Linked DNA regions of Homo sapiens: region 1 is linked to region 2. The links are contacts of gene promoters, found by promoter capture Hi-C in blood cells and fetal thymus (Javierre and others, 2016). All regions are on one chromosome and are shown on one strand. Each heading gives the region's core, a stretch centred on a gene start or on the middle of the fragment in contact. The rest is flanking DNA. Distances are from core to core; before and after follow the strand shown. Region 1 holds the start of RTCB (RNA 2',3'-cyclic phosphate and 5'-OH ligase). Region 2 holds the start of HMGXB4 (HMG-box containing 4).

Region 1 (4,431 bases), core at 344-2,843, 2.8 Mb before region 2:
CCAGACAATGACAGTCTGTGTTATTAGATCCTACAGATAATCATGTCATGGTGTTTTCTTTTTCTTTTCTTTTTTTTTTTTTTTGAGACTCACTCTGTCACCTAGGCTGGAGTGCAGTTTAGAATGATCACGGGTCACTGCAGCCAAGATCTCCCAGGCTCAAGCGATCCCCCTGCCTCAGCCTCCTGAGTAGCTGTGGTGCACACCACCCCGCCTGGCTAATTAAATTTTTTTTGTAGAGACAGGGTCCCACTATATTGCCCAGGCAGGTCTCCAAAGTCCTAGGCACAAAGGATCTTCCCGCCTTGGCCTCCCAAAGCGTTGGGATTACAGGCCATGAACCACTGCGCTCTCCCTATGTTAGATTTTCTATTCCTTCCTTCAGGGTAACGGTTTCCACACAAAGAAAGTGGCCAAACAGCAAACAGAACACAGATTTATCCCCGTGCGCTTTTTCTTCCCTCAGTGTAAGTGACTTGCCAACAAGGGAAACTCAGTAAGCTTTGATTCTGAATAAAAGAATGGAGTGACTATTGGGAGCTGTTTACCAAGACGTGAGACGAGACGGTAAACCTTTGAAGCATTTACTTGGCACCTTCAGGGATTTCAAAAACTATTTAAAAATACGTTGCAAAACTTCATAAACGTTTTCTTTTTTCACATTAATAAAAATATGAGCACAGATGGTGATGAAGGCCGAGAGATACAGAGCCCAGGCTTTCAAACTATCTGATGATCCTGAGCCCTCAAGTCTCCATCTGGGACGTCAAAGAAGTAAACCGGACATCAAGTCCTGGCTGAGCTTCTTCCTAGGTGGGTAGAGGAAGCTATGTCACCGACAGATCCTCGAGGTCCTTCTGTGAAGTGAATATTAAAATCAAACAGGCCCTGCCCTGCGCTACTGCAAGAAATGACATCGCTTTATTAAAAACCAACATGCGATACTGAATGCTGAAAACCTGGTTTAGTGAACAAAGGTTTGTAAACGTTATTTAAATAACCAGCATGACTCAGAGGAGGTGAATTCCAGTCCCAGCAAATGAACCTGGGGCTGGCTGTTCCACCCTGGAAAAGATCACTGAAGTTTCTGTGAACGTAAAACAGCTCACGATACGTTTATGAGACTGATCTGTGAAAACGCTTTGGAAACCCCAATTTCGTATTTATTTAGATTCCCATATCCACCGCACTTAGCTTGTCCTCGTGGTTCGGGGACCTCTCCTGGCGGGAGGTGGTGCCGGAACAGGTTGGGCGGCCCCAGAACCGTGAGGGGAGAAGGACGGGATGAGGGAAACTCTGCAAGGGGCCGGGGCGGACCCAGTGGTCAGGGGAGGTCCAGAGGGCGCAGTGGACGCCGGCCGGGCCGGGGACGGAGCACGGAAGGCCCCGCCATTTGCTCTCCTGCCTTACCTGCATGTTGGGCACGAAGCCCTTCTTGATCCTCCAGCAGTTTTTATTGATCTTCTCCAAGAACTGCAGCTCATCATTATAGCTGCGACTCATGGTGGCGAAAACTGTAGCAAAAACTCCCGGCTCCGCTTTGAAGAGCCGCTGCCGCGTAGTCCGGCTTCTCAGAGCACCGCCTTCCAAGAACCAAAGCGCAGGCGCGACCAGCGCCGCAGCAGATGAGCAACGGCAAGCGCCGAGGCTCAAAATTCTTCAGGCCAATGTCTTTCCTCTGGTTAAGTTGTACTGTCCTGTAGTGTATAACTTTAGGATCTTTATTAGTCGATTTCCTCTAAACTACAGCTAAGCGAAATCCAGAAGTTTAAAGTATAATCTAGTTATCTTTTGTTTTGGAAATGCTTTTCAGCAGCTTATGAAAACACCTTGAGTCTGGGTCAGGTTCGGTGCATTGGCTTGGAGTTTACACCCTCAGCTGGGAGGGGAAAAAGATAACGCCAGCAGCTGAGAAAGAAAAACCTGTTTGAGTAAATACCATAGCTGAACATTTATGTTTCAGAATGAATCTGGATATACACCAAATAACTTTTTTGGTCAGAAAGGAGCATCCCAAAGAATGAAGCATGGCAGCTTATCATTTATTCTGACAAACACTTGTGGGTGCATCTATTGTGGCCAGACATATACTACAAAATGATCAAATCACAGCCCTTATGGATCGCCAAAACTCCCCAGTCTAGCCGCATTTGATGATCAAGACCTCTTTAATCATGCTTTTATACGCCGTGTCTCTTGTTCATAGTGGTAAGTGAGCTTTAAGTGATTTCAGTTTCCAGTTCGGCCTCATGTCAACAACTGCAACTTTGGGATTAGAAAGACGCAAGATTCAATTTCTATCTGTGCCATTTACTGACTTGGTGTGATTAACCCCTCTTATCTCTGTTTCGTCATCTCTAAAATGGGATCATAATTCTTTCTTGAGTAGAAGGCTAAATGAAGTGACACTGGAGGGGTAATCAGCACGGGGCTTGGCACACGGCAAGCACTCTATAAACAGCTCTCCTCTTTCCATTCCCCCACTAGACTGTAAGTGCTGCAAAAAACAGTATGTAGTTTCCATTCATTTGTTGCATTATCTACACTGGTTCCGCTTTTCTTCTCTTCTGCCCCAATTTCTCCCCATTGATTAGGTGCTCTGACACATTAATATCATTCTCAGTTATGAATTGTCTGAGTTTAGTACTCTGCACTGCCATTTCATTGAATCTGTGGTGGGTGAAAAATCCCAAAGCTTGAAGTGATACAACTTTTAGAGTTTCCTGTGGTTACCCTGTTCCTTCTTGGAAAGATTTCAGAGGTAAAGAATTCTCTTTTAAAATCAAGCCTTGATGTCTGTGCAACCTTAGGTCTCTTCCCTTTTCTATGTCTTATTTTATTTTATTATTTTTTTGAGTTGGAGTCTTGCTCTGTCGCCAGGCTGGAGTGCAGTGGTGCCATCTCGGCTCACTGCAACCTCCGCCTCCCAGGTTCAAGCGATTCTCCTGCCTCAGCCTCCCAAGCAGCTGGGACTACAGGTGCGTGCCACCACTCCCAGTTAATTTTTGTATTTTTAGTAGAGACTGGGTTTCACCATGTTGGCCAGGATAGTCTCGACCTCTTGACCTCATGATCCGCCCACCTTGGCCTCCTAAAGTGCTGGGATTACAGGCATGGCCTACTGTGGCTGGCCTCTTATTTTATTTTTTAAAAATTCAGGGCAGGCCATTTCTCAAATAAAAAAACCAAGATTGAAGTTGATAGAAAACAATTTTAATTAAACACAGAAGATAGTAACAGTGAATATAAAACATGAAAACCAATATGCAGGTAGGGGAAAACCACTAGAGGGCCTAAGGGATTTCCACTGAGAATGACCAATACAAATACAGACTTAGAGTTGCTTACCCACCTGGTCAGAAGTACATGCCTAGCTCTTGTCCTAGAATCTTTCTTGCCCCAAACAAACAAACAAACATAAACACAGACACACGCAGCATGCATACACTCACATTCAGACACCTCTATTTATCCCTTTAACAGAGTCTGCCTTATTCTGGGTTCCTGAAGGCTTAAGAAAGAAAACTTTCTGCCTAAGCAATTCACAAGGGCTTTACAATTCCAGTGTGTACTGTCTTTCCCTTCTGGGTTTACAGTAGTTGTAGGATTAAGGACCATTTACTTCCTGGGGTGAATTGCAAACCGGCAATCAAGGGGCTGACTTCCCCCTCCACTGTCTGCTTATCAGGTTCAGACCTTCCCATACGTGGAAACTTGGCTGCTGCTTTGAGGATGTTTCATACTTCAGGTCGGTGGAAATCAAAAGGAAACCCTGGAAAGGATGTGACAATGAAGATAACGTCAAAACTTGGGCATGTCTGGGTTTGTCTGAGGCGTGAGGAAGAGATGGCTTCTTTTTTTTATTATTTTAATTTTGAGATGGAGTCTCAAAGGCTGTCGCCCAGGCTGGAGTGTGGTGGTGCGATCTTGGCTCACTGCAAGCTCCGTCCCTCGGTTTCAAGTGATTCTCGTGCCTCAGTCTCCCAAGCAGCTGGGACTACAGGTGTGTGCCACCACACCCGGCTAATTTTTGTATTTTTAGTAGAGACAGGGTTTCACCATTTTGGCCAGGCTGGTCTCGAACTCCTGACCACCTCAGCCTCCCAAAGTGCTAGGATTACAAGCATGAGCCACCATGCCCAGCTGAGAGATGGTTTCTTTACCAGGTCCTACAGAGAGTCAGGCCCTCCTCTACCCTGGCCCTACTTTGTGAATGCCCCAGAGAAAGGAAAGGCCATTTTGGAGTACTGTCACCCGATGTGACTTAGCCATTGTAGAAGCAGTGGGGGAGAAGCAGGGAAGTGGGAGAGCATGCACGGTAGTGTAGGGCAGCGGTCCCCAGCCTTTTTGGCATTAGCGACTGGTTTCATGGAAGACAATTTTTCCACTGACTGGGATTGGGGGATGGTTTCGGGATGAAACTGTTCCACC
Region 2 (4,198 bases), core at 1,699-4,198:
AGGACTAATGTCCTATTGCAACTTTGTGGTATCCCAGGAACTATCACAATACTGAATGATCACATGACCCCATCCCAGCCAATTGGAGTTCTTCTCTTGGATTTTGTGCGCGCGCGCGCGCGCGTGTGTGTGTGTGTATGTGTGTTGCTGATGTGGGAACATGCTCTTTCCTCTCTGGTCAGGAGACTATAAAGATGTAAGCCTGGGCTACCTGTGGCCATGATTCCAGGCCCCTAGGGACTGCCAGCCTGAGAGAACAGAGTTAAGAGGGAAGGATTTGAATCCCCGGACCCAGCTGTCCAGAGGGCCTGCTTCTCTCTGGCTCTGAGTAGTTTTTGTTTTGTTTTGTTTTTTACATGAGTTACATATTTTCTACTGGTCTCTTTATTTTTTTAATTTTGCAATTTAGGGCATACACACAGACTGAGAATCTGTGGTATGTCCCTCTGCCTGTCTCTTAAGGTAGTTTTAATTAGGTCCTGTCACTTCTAGCAAAAGGCCCTGGCCTAATGTATGTACCCAGGATGGCATCCTCCCATCAGACCGAAGACAAAGACGCTGCTCAAAACACATCTGGAAAGAGAAGAGCACAGAAAAGTGGCCTGAAGAAAGAGATGTCCAAACCAAGCACAATTTGACAGGCCCCACCTGTTGCTGCCAGGCACCAGGCAGTTTTCCTTAGATCAGGTGGACCAGAGAACTGCCCCACACTTAGGGAGTGCCCCCTCTTCACATATGCTAGATGCTATCCTCACTTGCCATGGGAAAAGGCATTCTTATTCACAAACCCCACCATGACTAGGCCTGCCCAGAGGGTCCTCTTTTCTGTCTTTCCAAGTTTCAAAAATGCAAGAGAACTATGAAAGATAGTCAGCAAAGAATACTTTTCCAGCAAGGTACAGAGGAAGCACTTGAATACATTCAAGGAACTATGATCTCCTGGCTCCCACCACCAACCCACTTCTGGCTGAGCTAGCTCCGGTGTGCACCTCAACAGAGAAGCCTCCCTGATTACTGTTTTAAAGAACAAGCTGTTCCTACCCACATCCCCTGCTGGTACTCTCGTAGCCAACCTGGCATTATTTTCTCCACCTCTGATTATCACTGAATGTAGTATTCATATCTTAATTTTGTGTCCCCCAACCCAACCGGAATGTAAGCTCCTGGGGGCCAAGGACTCTCAATTCTGTTCACTGTTCTATTCCCAACACTTAAGACAGTACCTGCCACATGCTGTGTTTTCAATAAATATCTGTTTAATAAATGGAAGTGCAATGATCCAAGACTGGGAGCAAGTTAATAGCATTTTGTGATTGAGTGAGTAGGCTGAGGAGAGATCTGACTTCAGGTCTCCAGGAGCTTAAAATGAGCAAGAACTTGATATGCTCCATCTTCAGGTGGACTAAAAGAAGAAATGGGACCAATAGGACTCATAAGGCTTTTAGGTCCAAGCTAGTGGTAGAGTGTGGGGACAGCTACTGTTTTTGCCTACCTAACATGCACTCACCCTTCTGACAGCAACCCTTGATTTTCTTTGTGTCTACCCCAACCTAATTTTGGAGGTAAGCAGATGACCTAATTTAACCAATCAGCAGCAGCAGCAGACTCCACACCTTTACTCATAGTGATTGCTTTTTGTCTGGACACATGATCTAATTCAGGCAATAAGAATCAATCCCATGACTTTTGCCAAAGCAAAAGGGAAAAAGAAACTCCTTCCAGGGCCAGGCATGGTGGCTCACATCTGTAATCCCAGCACTCTGGGAGGCCAAGGCAGGAGGATTGCTTGAGTCCAGGAGCTTGAGACCAGCCTGGGCAACATGGTAAAAAAAAAACAACAAAAAAAACCCATCTCTACAAAAAATACAAAAAGTACCTGGGCATGGTGGCATGCACCTGTGGTCCCAGCTACTTGGGGGGCTGAGGTGGGAGGATTGCTTGAACTCAGGGGGTCGAAGCTGCAGTGAGCTGTGATCGTGCCACTGCACTCCAGCCTGGGTGACAGAGAAAGACCCTGTCTCAAAACAAACAAACAAAACCTCCCTCCACAGGGACACTGCTAGCAGGAAAGATGATGAAGCTTGGAGCTGCTGGAGTCATCACCTGAATCTGAGAATAAAGCTAACAGAGGAGAGCACCACAGACACGTCAAAGGACCAGCTTGAGTTACCTCCCTGGAAGTGACCATGTCTGCAGGTACTGGAAATTTCAATCATGTGAGCCAATAAATTCCCCTCTTCTGGGGAAACACATGGAAATGGGTTTCTGTCACAACTGAAATCATCCTGACCAATGGATTTAGGGCTCTGAAGAACAAAAAGGAAATACATCATTAGGGCTCTTAAATGCCTCAAAGGGAAGCCTAACGTCAGGCAGGGTGTCCCAGAAATGCAATCTAACACCTTTTGGTGAAACTCATTGCCTGTCTTTTTGGTGAGTAGGATGGGAGCTGCGGAGAAAAAGGCCATGCTACTTTTATTAAGTATTTGCAGTTACATTTTGCAAATGATTTCAGCAACTTTATCTCAGGTGTTTTAACATCTCAGCATCTCACAGTTGTAAGAAACAGAATCAATCTTCTACTCAGTGCAGAGGGGGAGAGAGCATGATATAGCAAAAAGAGCACTGAACCAGAGTCTAACAATCTGGCTTTTCATCTTTATCTGATCACTGATTAGAGTGTGGTCTCAGACAAATCACCTTGCTTTTATTGGTCTCATGACTACCTCGTCTTCAAGCACTCACCCAACTCTGCAATGGAAAATACACTAGGACAGAGGTTCTTAATTTTTTATGGGGCCTGGGCCCTAGGAAAACACACACTGCACACATGATTTTACGTTGCATGGGGTTCACAACTCTAGAAGCCAATCTACATCTCTAACTTCTCTGCTTTACAGTAACACCAGCTTCTGCTTGAGCGCTCCTCCAGTGGGAGGGAGCTCACTACTCACAAGGAAGCCCATTGTACTACTGAACTGTACTAGAAAAATAAGTTATTCTTCATATATATATATATTTTTTGAGATGGAGTCTCACTCTGTCCCCCAGGCTGGAGTGCAGTGGCGCAATCTCGGCTCACTGCAATCTCCGCCTCCCGGGTTCAAGCGATTCTCCTGCCTCAGCCTCCTAAGTAGCTGGGATTACAGGCACGCGCCACCACGCCTGGCTAATTTTTTGTATTTTTAGTAGAGACGGGGTTTCACCACATTGGTCAGGCTGGTCTCGAACTCCTGACCTCAGGTGATCCACCCACCTCAGCCTCCCAAAGTGCTGGGATTACAGGCGTGAGCCACCGCCCCTGGCGTTCTTCTTCATATCAAACCAAGTTCTATACACTGTAATTTCTACTCATTGGTCGAAGTTCTCAATGGCAAATCAGAAAAATTGTGTTCTCGCCTGTATATGACATCTCTTCCTCTCTCTCTCTGAAGACTGTTTCTAACTAAAAAATGTAGATGATTCGCCATGCAAATTATTTTACTGTACATTGTTACAAAGATAAGTTCTTCACCTCACCCCTAATATGCCAAATGTTCAAATGTAGATGCTGAAGTCCAAATAAGCACACTGCTATTAATCTGCATAGATCTAGGTGTTGCAAAGAGGAGAACTGCTGTATAACAATATCTTGAAAGAAACAGCATAGTATTTTGGGGAAAGCACTGCATTCAGAATCAGAAGACTTGGAGTAATACTCGGTCTCACATTCCAACTACCTGTGTATCCTTGGGCACGTCACTTAACTTCTCTCAGCCTGGTTCTCTTCTGCAAAATGCGACAGGAATACAGTGAGGATTAAGTGAAATAATGTTTGTAAGCTTCTAGGGCAAGGCTGGGACATAGCAAATTCTCAATAAATAAGTGCCAGCTCCCGCGCTCAGCAGGCTCCGAGTTTTATTCGATGCGCTCGGCGCTCTTGGTCGAGCGGGATTCCCCCTCCGGAGCCCGAGTCTGCGCTCTGGGCTCGACTGAGGCTCCCTGGCCGCTCGCGCTTTTCTCTCCTTCTCCAAGATGGCGGCGATCGGCGGCGTTGAGGCGGGATCCGGGCGAGCCGAGTGAAGGTAGCGGCGAGCGGAGACCCCAGGAGACCGGGCTGGGCCCCCACCCTGAGGCGGCAGCAGCCCCGCCCCGTCGCCACCCGCCGCCCTGGGCCCGCGACATCACCTCTGGGGTGCCCCAGGCCCTTCGCGGCCTA

Evidence for each region. Contacts are between HindIII fragments. The CHiCAGO score rates a contact against its expected background, and 5 or more counts as called.
Region 1: the fragment with the promoter of RTCB here is called in contact with a fragment that was not itself captured in region 2 in 1 of 17 cell types (total B cells); the score reaches 5.2 in total B cells.

Annotation. Positions count from the first base shown.
Region 1 is chr22:32,410,654-32,415,084 of GRCh38, forward strand. RTCB (RNA 2',3'-cyclic phosphate and 5'-OH ligase) reads right to left here and starts at 1,594. Exons shown (of 12, transcript NM_014306.5): 1 at 1,411-1,594. The coding sequence starts at 1,503. BPIFC (BPI fold containing family C) reads right to left here. Exons shown (of 17, transcript NM_174932.3): 17 at 3,192-3,772. The coding sequence ends at 3,650. RefSeq lists an enhancer at 1,564-1,743. The HindIII fragment of the contact is 2,194 bases long and covers 500-2,693 here.
Region 2 is chr22:35,253,494-35,257,691 of GRCh38, forward strand. It overlaps HMGXB4 (HMG-box containing 4), which reads left to right and starts at 4,000. Exons shown (of 11, transcript NM_001003681.3): 1 at 4,000-4,064. LOC105373017 (a long non-coding RNA gene) reads right to left here. Exons shown (of 4, transcript XR_938210.3): 2 at 3,720-3,768. RefSeq lists an enhancer at 3,294-3,794 and a silencer at 4,060-4,198. The HindIII fragment of the contact is 1,741 bases long and covers 2,079-3,819 here.